Regions from separate parts of the Homo sapiens genome. Here region 2 is linked to region 1. Evidence: promoter capture Hi-C in 16 types of primary human blood cells and fetal thymus (Javierre and others, 2016). All regions are on one chromosome and are shown on one strand. Each heading gives the region's core, a stretch centred on a gene start or on the middle of the fragment in contact. The rest is flanking DNA. Distances are from core to core; before and after follow the strand shown.

Region 1 (5,373 bases), core at 1,912-4,411:
TTAAACAGTGATGAGAATGACAGAGTTTCACAGGAATGTTCAACTTAATTGTGTCAAACATGTAACTGTCTATAAATTCTATAGGGACTGCATTATTCTATGGGGACATGAATAATGTTTTTAATACAAAATTCCAGTTAACTGACTGGAGTAGACTAATCATTAATTCTAAAACATGCTTCTGGCAAATCCCTATCTACCCTGTATTTTCCCCCAAAGCATATATTAGCTATGAGTAGCATGAATATAAAAGTTGTGGTTACCAAAACTTCTTTTTACTTCCCTCTTTCATTAACTATATTTGTTAATACACAAGGTTTGATCATAAATAGTAAAGTCAATTCACAAGTTAAGAAAAAAGATCTAAGTGTATTTCAAAACAGGATCCTTCATGTTCTTTGAGTAATCCAGGCAGCAAAGTCAGGAATGCTCATGGGTGCTACTGGATATTAGTGCTAATTACTAATAATATGTACTTACAATTATGCCCTTTCATCCAAGTACCTCAAAGAGCTTTCATAGCATTAATTTGTTATTTCCTATAATATCTTTGAGAGGCGGCTGATAGAAAGTTATTATTATCTCTATTTTACAGTCAGAGAAACTAGGGCATAGAGAGGTTAAGTAACATTGCTAGGGTCATACGGTGAACAACTGACAAAAAAGGGACTCAAGCTAATTATTCTCATTTCCTGTTCAGTATATTATCCATTATATGGTTGTTCAATACACCTAAATGCTTTTTTATCCTAGACAAATTGAGAATACTGTATTTAAATAATCTAAGACGTAAGTGAACGCGTTTCTCTTTTTTTGTGTGTTCAAAAATGCTGCTCTACAGGGATATAGAGTTAAAAACTAATAATTAGTCTTTGGTTTGCAGCTGTAGCTATTATTTATAGGGCTTTTACTATTTGTGGTTTTCTGAAGCTCTGCTCAAAATGAAGTATTCTATTTCTCACTGCTTTATGCTAGGTTAGCATAGCTGTGAGCCACCAAAAAGCAGCTGAGACAGGCTGACTAATGAATTTGAGGTTGTCTTTCATTGCGTTCCTATTGCTGACTCTTCTTGAAGTCATCCTCCTTCTAGCTCTCCATTCAGCAGATATTTGTGCAACCCACCATCCTCAATCCTCAGCCTATGGCCAGCTTAACTGTTGTCAATGATTAAATTTAAAATATTTTTATTGGAATGGAGCAATTCCTACAGAATAAAAAAGAAAAAAATTAAAATATTAAAATATAAACATAGATAATATTTCATTTTATGAGTTAATGATGCTATACTATTAATAGTTACCACTGTTACATCCAGTTTCTGCTAAACCTGACCTTTAGGGTCCTTAGAAGACCATTAAACATTAGAATATTGGTCTATGGATGGACACATATCACCATATTGGGTTTTTTAATGCAGTATTTCAGTAATTTTCCCAAGTAAAGGCAGGGAGAAAGGAGAAGTGGTTTTGAAACTGTGCTCAATGACGTAAGACTGCAGTCAGCTTGGTTATGGTCATCTAAACCTGTGGTGTTTCCAACTTCAGCCCAGCTCCTCCCTAGAGCTCTAGACCCATATAGCAACCACCATTAGACAGCACCACTCTTACTTCACTCATCAACTCCAAAACTGAACTCATTTTTTTTCTGCAAAAATGTCCCCTCCCAGGACTCATCCTAACTCTTCCTTATCTTATTTAGTAAAATACACCCTTATCCTGCCCCTCCCTCAAAGCAAAACAAGGCATCATCATTGCCTCTTCCATTCTCCTATCTGGCAGCTGCCCCTAGCAACCAATTACCAGTTGATATGGCCTCTTGAATATTTTAGGAATCCATCTCCTTTGGATGCTCACTACCATTCACACAGGGTCCTTAAGTTTTCTCTTACTGGCTTCTGCAATGGCCCCCTTGTGGGCTCTCTGCTTATCCTTCTCTGCCCCCCCACCTCCACCCCCCCAAGTTATCTGTTCTCTACCAACAGAAGAATAGCTTAAATTGTAATCTGTCCACTCATTGCCTCACCAAGGCATAGACGATTCGTGATTTGGCTCCTGTTTTCTTCTCCAGCCTCATCTTCTTCAGCAACCTAAGTTTGAACTTCAAGACCTGTAATTATTACTCATTCTTCTCAACAAATTATTTGTCCCCGTGCTGCATCTCCTTTCTGTTCGGATCCGGATTTGCCATCCCACCCCTATTTTTGTAGTAGAAAATGCCTATTTATCTTTAAAACTCTAACCTACGTTAGTAAAGCTATCCATTCTTCACGCTGTACATCTTGATAAACCATACTTCCAATAGCAATGATTTGCTTTCATGTATGTCTGCCCACTAGACTGGACATTCCTTGAATGGCTCATACCAGGAATATAGTTGGTACTCAATTTGTGGGGAGCAAAGAGAGATAAGCGAATAAATGTCAAGACATAAGAATCTGTAGCTGCTAACTTAAATTTACGGATTTAGTGAAACTACTTCTCACAAGCTACCAAATCACAGTGCCATGGGGCCGCAAGATGATCTCAGTGCCACACCGACACCTGCAGAGTCGCAGGGGGGTCCGACACCCCTCAGAAAGAACTCGCAGACCGTCCGAGAAAGCGAATTCTCCAGGGGATCAGCAGTTAGATGAGGCCCAGGGCAGCCACGAGACCCTCCAGCCAGGGTAGGCGGCTGACCCGCCTCCTGGGATTTGGCCCGTGACAAGCCACGTCGCCAGCTCCGCTCTGAATACCCCCGGCCACGCCACACGAGCGGCCTCAACCCTGAGACGCCCAGGGAACATGAGCTGACCCTCTAGAAGCAAGATGGCGGCCTCCGCTCTCCCCTCCTTCCCCCAAGAACCCCCTCCTGGTCCCCAAAAGAAAGACAAGGACACCGCGGCAACGACGCCGAGATCCGGGAACCTCCGCGAGGCCCGCGGCCACTCCCGAGCCCCCGGGAGATGACTTCACCTCGCGGAGCTCAGAGAGCCGGGGGTGGGGCCGTCGGAAAGACAGCGCGGACAGCCCTCAGCTTGCAGGGGGCGGAGGCCGGGCAGCCTGCGCCCTCCGAGCCACTGTTCTGCGGCCCAGGCCCATGATCACCCTCCTCTCAGCCCACGGACAGGAAGTCGCTCCCCAGCTGCCCCGCCCCGCTCCCCAGCGCCCCGGAAGTGATCTGTGGCGGCTGCTGCAGAGCCGCCAGGAGGAGGGTGGATCTCCCCAGAGCAAAGCGTCGGAGTCCTCCTCCTCCTTCTCCTCCTCCTCCTCCTCCTCCTCCAGCCGCCCAGGCTCCCCCGCCACCCGTCAGACTCCTCCTTCGACCGCTCCCGGCGCGGGGCCTTCCAGGCGACAAGGACCGAGTACCCTCCGGCCGGAGCCACGCAGCCGCGGCTTCCGGAGCCCTCGGGGCGGCGGACTGGCTCGCGGTGCAGGTGAGCGATGCCCGCTCGGGCCGCCCGGGGAGGGACTGGGGCCACCCGGGCGGCGGCGGGGGTGTGTCCGGGCGGCGGCGGGCCGAGGCCCTGACGCGGGTTCGGGCTGCCGAGATTGCACATCCCACGTTCTGCCCGGGGACGAGCTGCGAGATGAGCCCGGCTGGAATCCGGGGCACCGCGTTCGCCGCTGTGGGGCGAGTGAGCCCCCGAGAGTGAGCGGCTGCGGAGAGGTCCCCTGCGCCCGGCAGCCGGTCTCAGTTGGCCTCGTCCGAAGGTCACCCCGCACCTTTCGTCCACGGCGCCCAAGTTCCCGCCCGGGCGGTGCCCGCGACCTGGGGCAACCCGCTGCCGCCGCAGTCCCCGCGCCTCACTCCACCCCTCTCCCCTCCTTCCCTTTCTTTCCACTCCTTGCCTGTGCTAGAGCCGCTGCTTTTTAAGCATCTCCGCCAGGGTTTTTTGTTTGTTTGTTTTGTTTGTTTGTGTTTTTTTTTTTTTTTGCCAGTTAAAGGAATGGTTTTTCAGACTTAAAGTCATTAGACTCTCCGCACTGAACTGAATACCTGGCCTTGGGCGCTTGCACAGCTTTAGCCCATTTTCAGGTAATCTAGCTTCTAATATGAGGAAGAGAATACATTTTGGGAGAGAGGTGTTTCCTCTGTGGTTCGTTTCTGAAAGATTTCCAGAAGTGGAAGATGTGATTGGCATGCTTTAGCCTGGATATATGTGTTTAAGTAGACGGGGGTGACGGCACACAGGGGTGGCAGTGTTGTTTCAGGATTTAGGGAGAATTAGGGAGTTAACTGGCCTGTGCTCGGAAACCTGAATGTCCAGACTTGTAAGAGCTCATCCAAGTGTGGCTGAGGTAGTGTGAGAAGTCCCGTGCCACGCCCTACGTGTCAAGCTGAAAAGCACCTAATTTACAAATTGTGTGGTGTGGGGGGGGAACAACCTTTATAAAACATGTATCATAAGTTAATTCTTTTCCAGAAAGTAAATTGCAACTTTAATCATATTCCAGAAATTGGATAACAGATTTCATTGGTAAACTCTTACAGTATGTTTATTAATGTATTTCAGTGTGTCTTATTAGCTCATGTTTTTCTGTCTCTGGTAATACAATATTATTCTAAACCGACTCCTGTATTAAAATAATACACTATTATTGTGAAGTATTATCTGACAACACCGTTTTTTGACCTTGGATTTCTTTAGGGCAGGAGCCATGTCCTACTTATGACTGTTTCTATGCAGTATGCCTTGAACATAGAAGCTGTTCACACATTTCTGCACTGAATGAATGAGTGTATAGGTTATCTCACAGTCACCATCCAGGAGTTGCTTATTTTTGTTGGGCTAGGCTGTTTGTTTTGTTTTAGGTTCTTGCCACTTACAGACTTTACTTCGTGTTTCATTCTTCAGCAGTCAGAGTTCTTTGCCTTCCAAAACTATCCTCCTCTGAAAGGTTAAAATTATATTAAAATTGTGCTGGGCATTATAACTTGTATTCTAGTGTTAAATGCTTACTACTTGAGCATATTCAGAGTTAGTAGGAAGAGACTGCCTGGTGATACACATCAAGTTTATGTTTGGGGTTGATAACTGTACCCTATCTTAATGAAAAAGAGGAAATTAGGAGTTACCATTGTTTGGATAACGTGGTGCTTCCCAGAATGCTTATAGTGGTTCATTCTTCCCATGAATACACGCAATCCTCTGAAATCCTGATGTGACCTTGGCATGATTTACCAATAGCCTCTTTTACATTTATTTTCCAAGATCCAGATGCTGTTCTCTAGTGTGTTTGCTGAGTGTGCAATAATATGGATCATTTATTTTGAAGCAGTACTTCATTACAACACTTTCTTCACAGGGCTTTCCAAAGGAAGAAAGGGCTAATTATAGAAAAGAATCTTGTCTACCATTTGTGAGGGAATATTTTTGTCTGTAGATGGTTG
Region 2 (5,515 bases), core at 2,833-5,332, 830 kb before region 1:
CAGTCAGGGAGGTCCAGTGGCTTTCCCAGTGCTTTCCCTGGAAAGCAACACTCTAGCCAAATACTGTGCTAGACAAGGGGAAAGAGAGGCATGGACAGGTAAAAGGTCAGTGTGGCTGCAGCACAGAGACCAAGGAGAAGCTTGGCATAAGCTACAGCTGGAGAGGTGGGTAGGGGCCAACACAGATCCCCGTGATCCACTGAGGAGTTCCATCTGCACTCTGAGAACGATGTGGAGGAACTGAAGGATGATGACAAGATCTGATCTGTATTTTGACAGCAGTGGGGACAGCAGATGACAGTAATTCACAGTGGAAGAAGATAAACCAGTTAGGAGGCTGCTGCAGGGATCCAGGCAAAAGACTATGGCAGTCTGGGTGAGATTAATGAAGACGAAAATTTTGAATGAAGTTTTACATCCACAGAAGGCAAGTGTTGGAGCCATACCTATTTCAACATATCGACTTGGCAAATCCCTCATTTCACTGGCATGCCGTTCCTTCACTGAGCACACCTGGAAAATAAGTTCGCAGGTTATTTTATTCATTTGATGGAAAATTCTTCATAACATTTTATTCAGTATATGGTATCTTTGTTAAATTAACCTTGTAGCACTGCAGATGGAGTACAATCTACCCTATGACTTAAATGACAGAAATTAATGTAAATGACATATAGCAATCACTATTTATATTCACCAACTTTATTCCTCAATAAAGCCTGATTCACATAAGTTCAGCTTTCCTGGTGAGACTGAACCTGAAGTCAAGTACTAATCCAAGTACAACTTCTGTCAGTGATCAGGGATTTTTCCTTTTTCTTTTACATAGTGTTCTTTTATAGCTGCTACCATTAACTGTAACTATGGTATGGAAAATTCTAAAATATAGAAAAACTCAAAGGGGAAAACAAGCATTAGTCATTGTTCCAGCACAAAGAGAACACCATTAATAATCTTTTTTATGAAAGCTACTTTTATTAACCTAACAATTTAATACAAGTAATTCAATATGTTATTTAAAGATTCTTCTACAACATAATTCTGTAAAGTTGTTATAATACAGTGAGCCCTCCATATCCATGGGTTTTGCATCCATGAATTCTACATTCATGGATTTAACCAAACAAGGATCAGAAATATTCAGGAAAAAAAAAAATTCTACAAAATTCCAAAAAGCAAAACTTGACCTTGCTGTACACCAACTACTTCATTAAGTCTATGCAAATGCAGTGATGTGTAGGCATTGTATCAGGTGTTATAAGTAATCTACAGATGATTTAAAGTATACAGGAGGATGTGCATAGGTTATATGCAAATACCGCATCATTTTATATATGCAAATGTTACATCATTTATATAAGCATCAGAGGAGCCCAGGATCCACAGGGGTCCTGGAACCAATTCCCCACAGGCACTGAGGGATGATTGCCTTTTATTACATGAATGTACTATACTTAATCAACCCCCTTTGGGGGCATATTTTTTTGTTTTTATATCTATTGTAAGCAATAGTGCAATCAACATACTTATATATAAAACTTTAGGACTTTTGTTTACTTAGGATAAATTCCTAGAAGTAGAATTGATACCAATGGGTACATAAACTTTTGTAAGGTTTTGTTTTTTAATATACGTAGTATACTGAGTTGCTGCCCAGCAACACTGCAGCGACTCAGTGAATGCAGAGTGCCCACTTTCCCTCAGGCGGGGCTTGAACCCATGGCTGCAGAGGTAGAAGCCTCCACATAGAAGTGACCGGCTGTCTTCTTCCTTGATTGCTTTTTGCCATTTGTCTCTTGTCCGTTTCATATAACTGCCTGTCCACTTCTCCAATTTTCTTCCCTTCTGGTAGACTTTTGAGCTTATAAGTTATCCACTCTTCTTCCCACACTTACTAGGGAAACTACTAAATCATCTAATGGCACATTCCACAATGCCAAATGGACAACTGTTTTAATGTGCTGATATAAGTACATGAGGAACAGTCTTTCAAATGGTTTGAAGTATAATAAAAAAGCAAATGTATCGGCAATATTAGTGAACACTTTTTTGGGCAGTTACTGGCAGTGCTCCTGAGTTAAGGCCTTTGTGAAATAGATATCATTATTTTCTTAAGATTATGGTGCAGTGGGGGAGACACAAAAATAAGGCACTTTACTGAAGTGTGACAGGGAAGTACAGAGCAGGGGCATCTCCTGCTAGGGCAGGAAGACTTCCTGGAAGAAGTGACATGTAAGTTGAAGCAGGAGAGACAACACAGGAGAACACGGTGATATGACAGCATAGGGCCTTCAACTGGAAGCTCAATCGGACAGAAATGAAGGGCATGGGGGAAGAAGGGGACAGAGTTGAGGCTGGAGAGTAACGGAGAGGCAGATCACAAAGAACCTTGGAAGTCATGTTTATGATCAGTTATCCTATGGGCAAGGAGGGGACTGACCTCATCTGACCTGCACTTAGATTATTCTAGCTATACTGTTTAGGATAGGTTTAGGGGGGGTAAAACCAGCACCAAAAAGACTTGACAGGAAGATGAAGTGCAGAGATTTGAGAGACATTGACAGAACTTGAGGGCTGACAGTCTTCCAACACTCAGACACCCCTGAAAGACAATGTTATTATGTTTAATCCAGAGATGAGGACACTGAGGCTCTGTGAGTGATGCCAGACTGCCTGGCCAGAGCTGGAATTCACACCAAGGCCTGACTGGTATCTCGCTGGTCATGCCACAGCTTGAGAACAAGGATGCATTGCACTACTGGTAGCTGGGCATGGCTCTACTGCACTCCTCAGCTCTGTGGTCTGGGCTCACCCAGCACCTGTCTCATAGGTAGGAAGTGGCAGGTAAAGGTGGGTGAATAGGTAAGTGCTACCTTAAGCTCATGTCTTGCATAAGCACAAATCAATGACTGTAAGAGCCCTTTACCACTGATAGGTGGGTTCTTGCCCATGAACTCTAATCTGCTTCCTCCACTTCTCCACATGGGTGGATAACAGGCATCTCTCAAGTAGACACACCTAAAACCAACTCTTGCCTTTTTCACTCTAAACATGCTTTATCAACAGTCTTTCCCATTTCAGCAAAAGGTAGTTTCACCTTCCAGTATGTTAGGTGACTGTGATCTTACACCCCACATCCAACTGTCAACAAATACTGCAGAGTCTACCATCAAAATATATCCAGGATCTGGTCATTTCTCACCAGCTGCATTACACTGACCTGAGACAACATTATTTTTTATGGAGATGACTGCGGTAGCCTAATTGGTCTCCCCTCTTGACTGCCCCTTTGCCGTTTAGCTCCACACAGCAACCAGAGATCCTTCCAAAATACAAGTTAGATCACTTAACTGACTCCACAACAGCTCAAAGCCCTGTGCTGGCTTCCTACCTCAGTCAAATTAAAAGCCAAAGACTTCTCAAGGGCCCCTGGGCTCCAACATCACCTGCTCCTCCACCACACCCTCCCCGACCCCCACTTACATCCCTCTCCTCCACATCTGCTCCACTCACTCTGACACAAACAGCTTCCTTGCTGTTCCTCAAAAGCACACCAATCACACTCCTGCTTCAAGAATTTTTGCACTCCTGCTCCTTCTGCTAACACCTCCTACCCCAGGCCCCCATAGAGCTGTATAACTTTTCTCTCCAGATCTCTGACCAAACAACATATTAGTTATTGGACAGGCCATCCCTGGACCACCCTATATTAAATGGTACCTACCCCAATCCCTTTTCCTATTATCCTGTTAAAATGTTCTCCTTTTTATTTGCCACCTTCAACATGCTATACTTACTTGTTTTTGTCCACCTTCCTCACTAGAACATAAATTTCCCAAGGGAAGGAACTCATTCATTTGTATATTTGTGTTCTGCAACACTAGAACACTGCCTGGCACACTGCAGGCACCTGGTAAACGTTTGTTGGGCAAATGAATGAATGAAGTAAATGGTAAGGTCCAATTGCACACTTTATTTTACTGTTTCTGGTTGCTTCTCCCCAACAAGATTGCTGTCCCTCTGAAGAAAGACCACGTCCTTATCTCCTCTTCCTTCAACAGAACTCACTAAGAGTCTACACTGAGAAGTGCTCAACATATAGAACTGAGTTTGAAGAAAAGGAACCTCCAATAAAATGAAATATTTGACATAAAAATTGTATAGAAGCTGGATCTTAACTTGGGCATAAAGAAAGGGTATATGTTTCCCATGGCTGCTATAACAGACTGCCACACTTGGTGGTTTAAAACAACAGAGATGTTGTTTTAAACATCTGTTACAGTTCCGCAGGCTACAAGTCTGAAATTGGGTTCACTGGGCTAAAATCAAGGTGTTGGCAAGGCTGTACTTCCTCTGGAGGCTCTAGGGGACAATCTGCTGTCTCCTCCAGCTTTCTGGTGGCTGCCACCATTCACTGACCACCTCACTCCAATTTCTGCCTCCACAGTGGTACTGCCTTCTCCTCCTCTCTTCCATGTTAGCATCTCCCTCTGCCTCCCTCTCATAAAGATAAACGTGATTGCATTTAGGGCCCACCCAGATAATGTAGGTTAATTCCCCATCTCAAGATCCTTAACTTAATCATATCTTTTGCTAAATAAAGTAATATTTACCTTTTTGTCATATAAAGAAACATTTATAGGTTCTAGGAATTAGGGCTTGCTATCCTTGGGGCCATTATTCAGCATACCAGAGAAAGAATTTCTGGGAGTAATGAGTAAACTTGTTACATATTTCTACAGGCTAATTTTCCTTGTCTTTCACCATAAGAAAAGAAAATCAGAACTTTAAAACTAACAAGCAACCTGGTCCATTTAAGGGATTTTTAAAATACTAAGAATATAAATTTATTGGATGAGTAACCACACACGTGGGACAGGGAGCCCAGGGAATCCCTTTTTCCATCCTACGATATAGGCACAGTTTCCTTCCTGTTACCCTAAATATAAATCAGGTTGTGTTCATGTAACACATGAAGAAAAAAGAACCTGAATGATAACAACATGAGGGCTGGGAGGGCCTGAAGTGTAACAATGTTTGTTTTGCTAATAACAATCATTACATTAATAATTTTCCACTTTCCCTTTCCAGAGAAGAGTACATTTTAAATAGCCACGTCCCCTTCATGACATTGCTAGAACTTTATATAATAATGACAGCTAACATTTATTAAGCAATTACATCAGATTCTATGCAAAACTCTTTACATGCATTGGCTCATTTATTTCTCCCCAAAACTTGTGATGTGAGAACAATTAGCACTACCACTTTGCAGATGAGGACAGTAAGGCTCACAGAGGATCCCAAAGGAAAATGGAGAAGCTGGACTTGATCCCAGGTCTGTCTGGCCTCAAAGCCTGAGCTCTTCCATGAGACTACTGCTGGGATACTCTCTCATGCCATTTTTATACTTCCACTAATTTTTAGTTTATTTTGTTCGAATTAAGCTGTCTATTTTTTAAAGGGAAACAACTTTTGGCTCTGAAGTATCTAATATAACAGAAGCACTAGTAGG

What was found. The method cuts DNA at HindIII sites, captures the fragments that hold promoters and counts their contacts. A CHiCAGO score of 5 or more calls a contact.
Region 2: a fragment that was not itself captured here is called in contact with the fragment with the promoter of RALA in region 1 in 1 of 17 cell types (neutrophils); the score reaches 6.0 in neutrophils.

Annotation. Positions count from the first base shown.
Region 1 is chr7:39,620,411-39,625,783 of GRCh38, forward strand. RALA (RAS like proto-oncogene A) reads left to right here and starts at 3,162. Exons shown (of 5, transcript NM_005402.4): 1 at 3,162-3,415. It overlaps LOC107986785 (a long non-coding RNA gene), which reads right to left and starts at 3,067. Exons shown (of 2, transcript XR_001745175.2): 1 at 2,023-3,067; 2 at 1-1,204. RefSeq lists an enhancer at 3,038-3,885 and silencers at 3,212-3,721, 4,316-4,365. The HindIII fragment of the contact is 9,610 bases long and covers 1-5,373 here.
Region 2 is chr7:38,789,355-38,794,869 of GRCh38, forward strand. VPS41 (VPS41 subunit of HOPS complex) reads right to left here. Exons shown (of 29, transcript NM_014396.4): 10 at 447-513. Among named protein-coding and RNA genes, the nearest start is that of VPS41, 120 kb to the right of the region's middle. The HindIII fragment of the contact is 7,889 bases long and covers 139-5,515 here.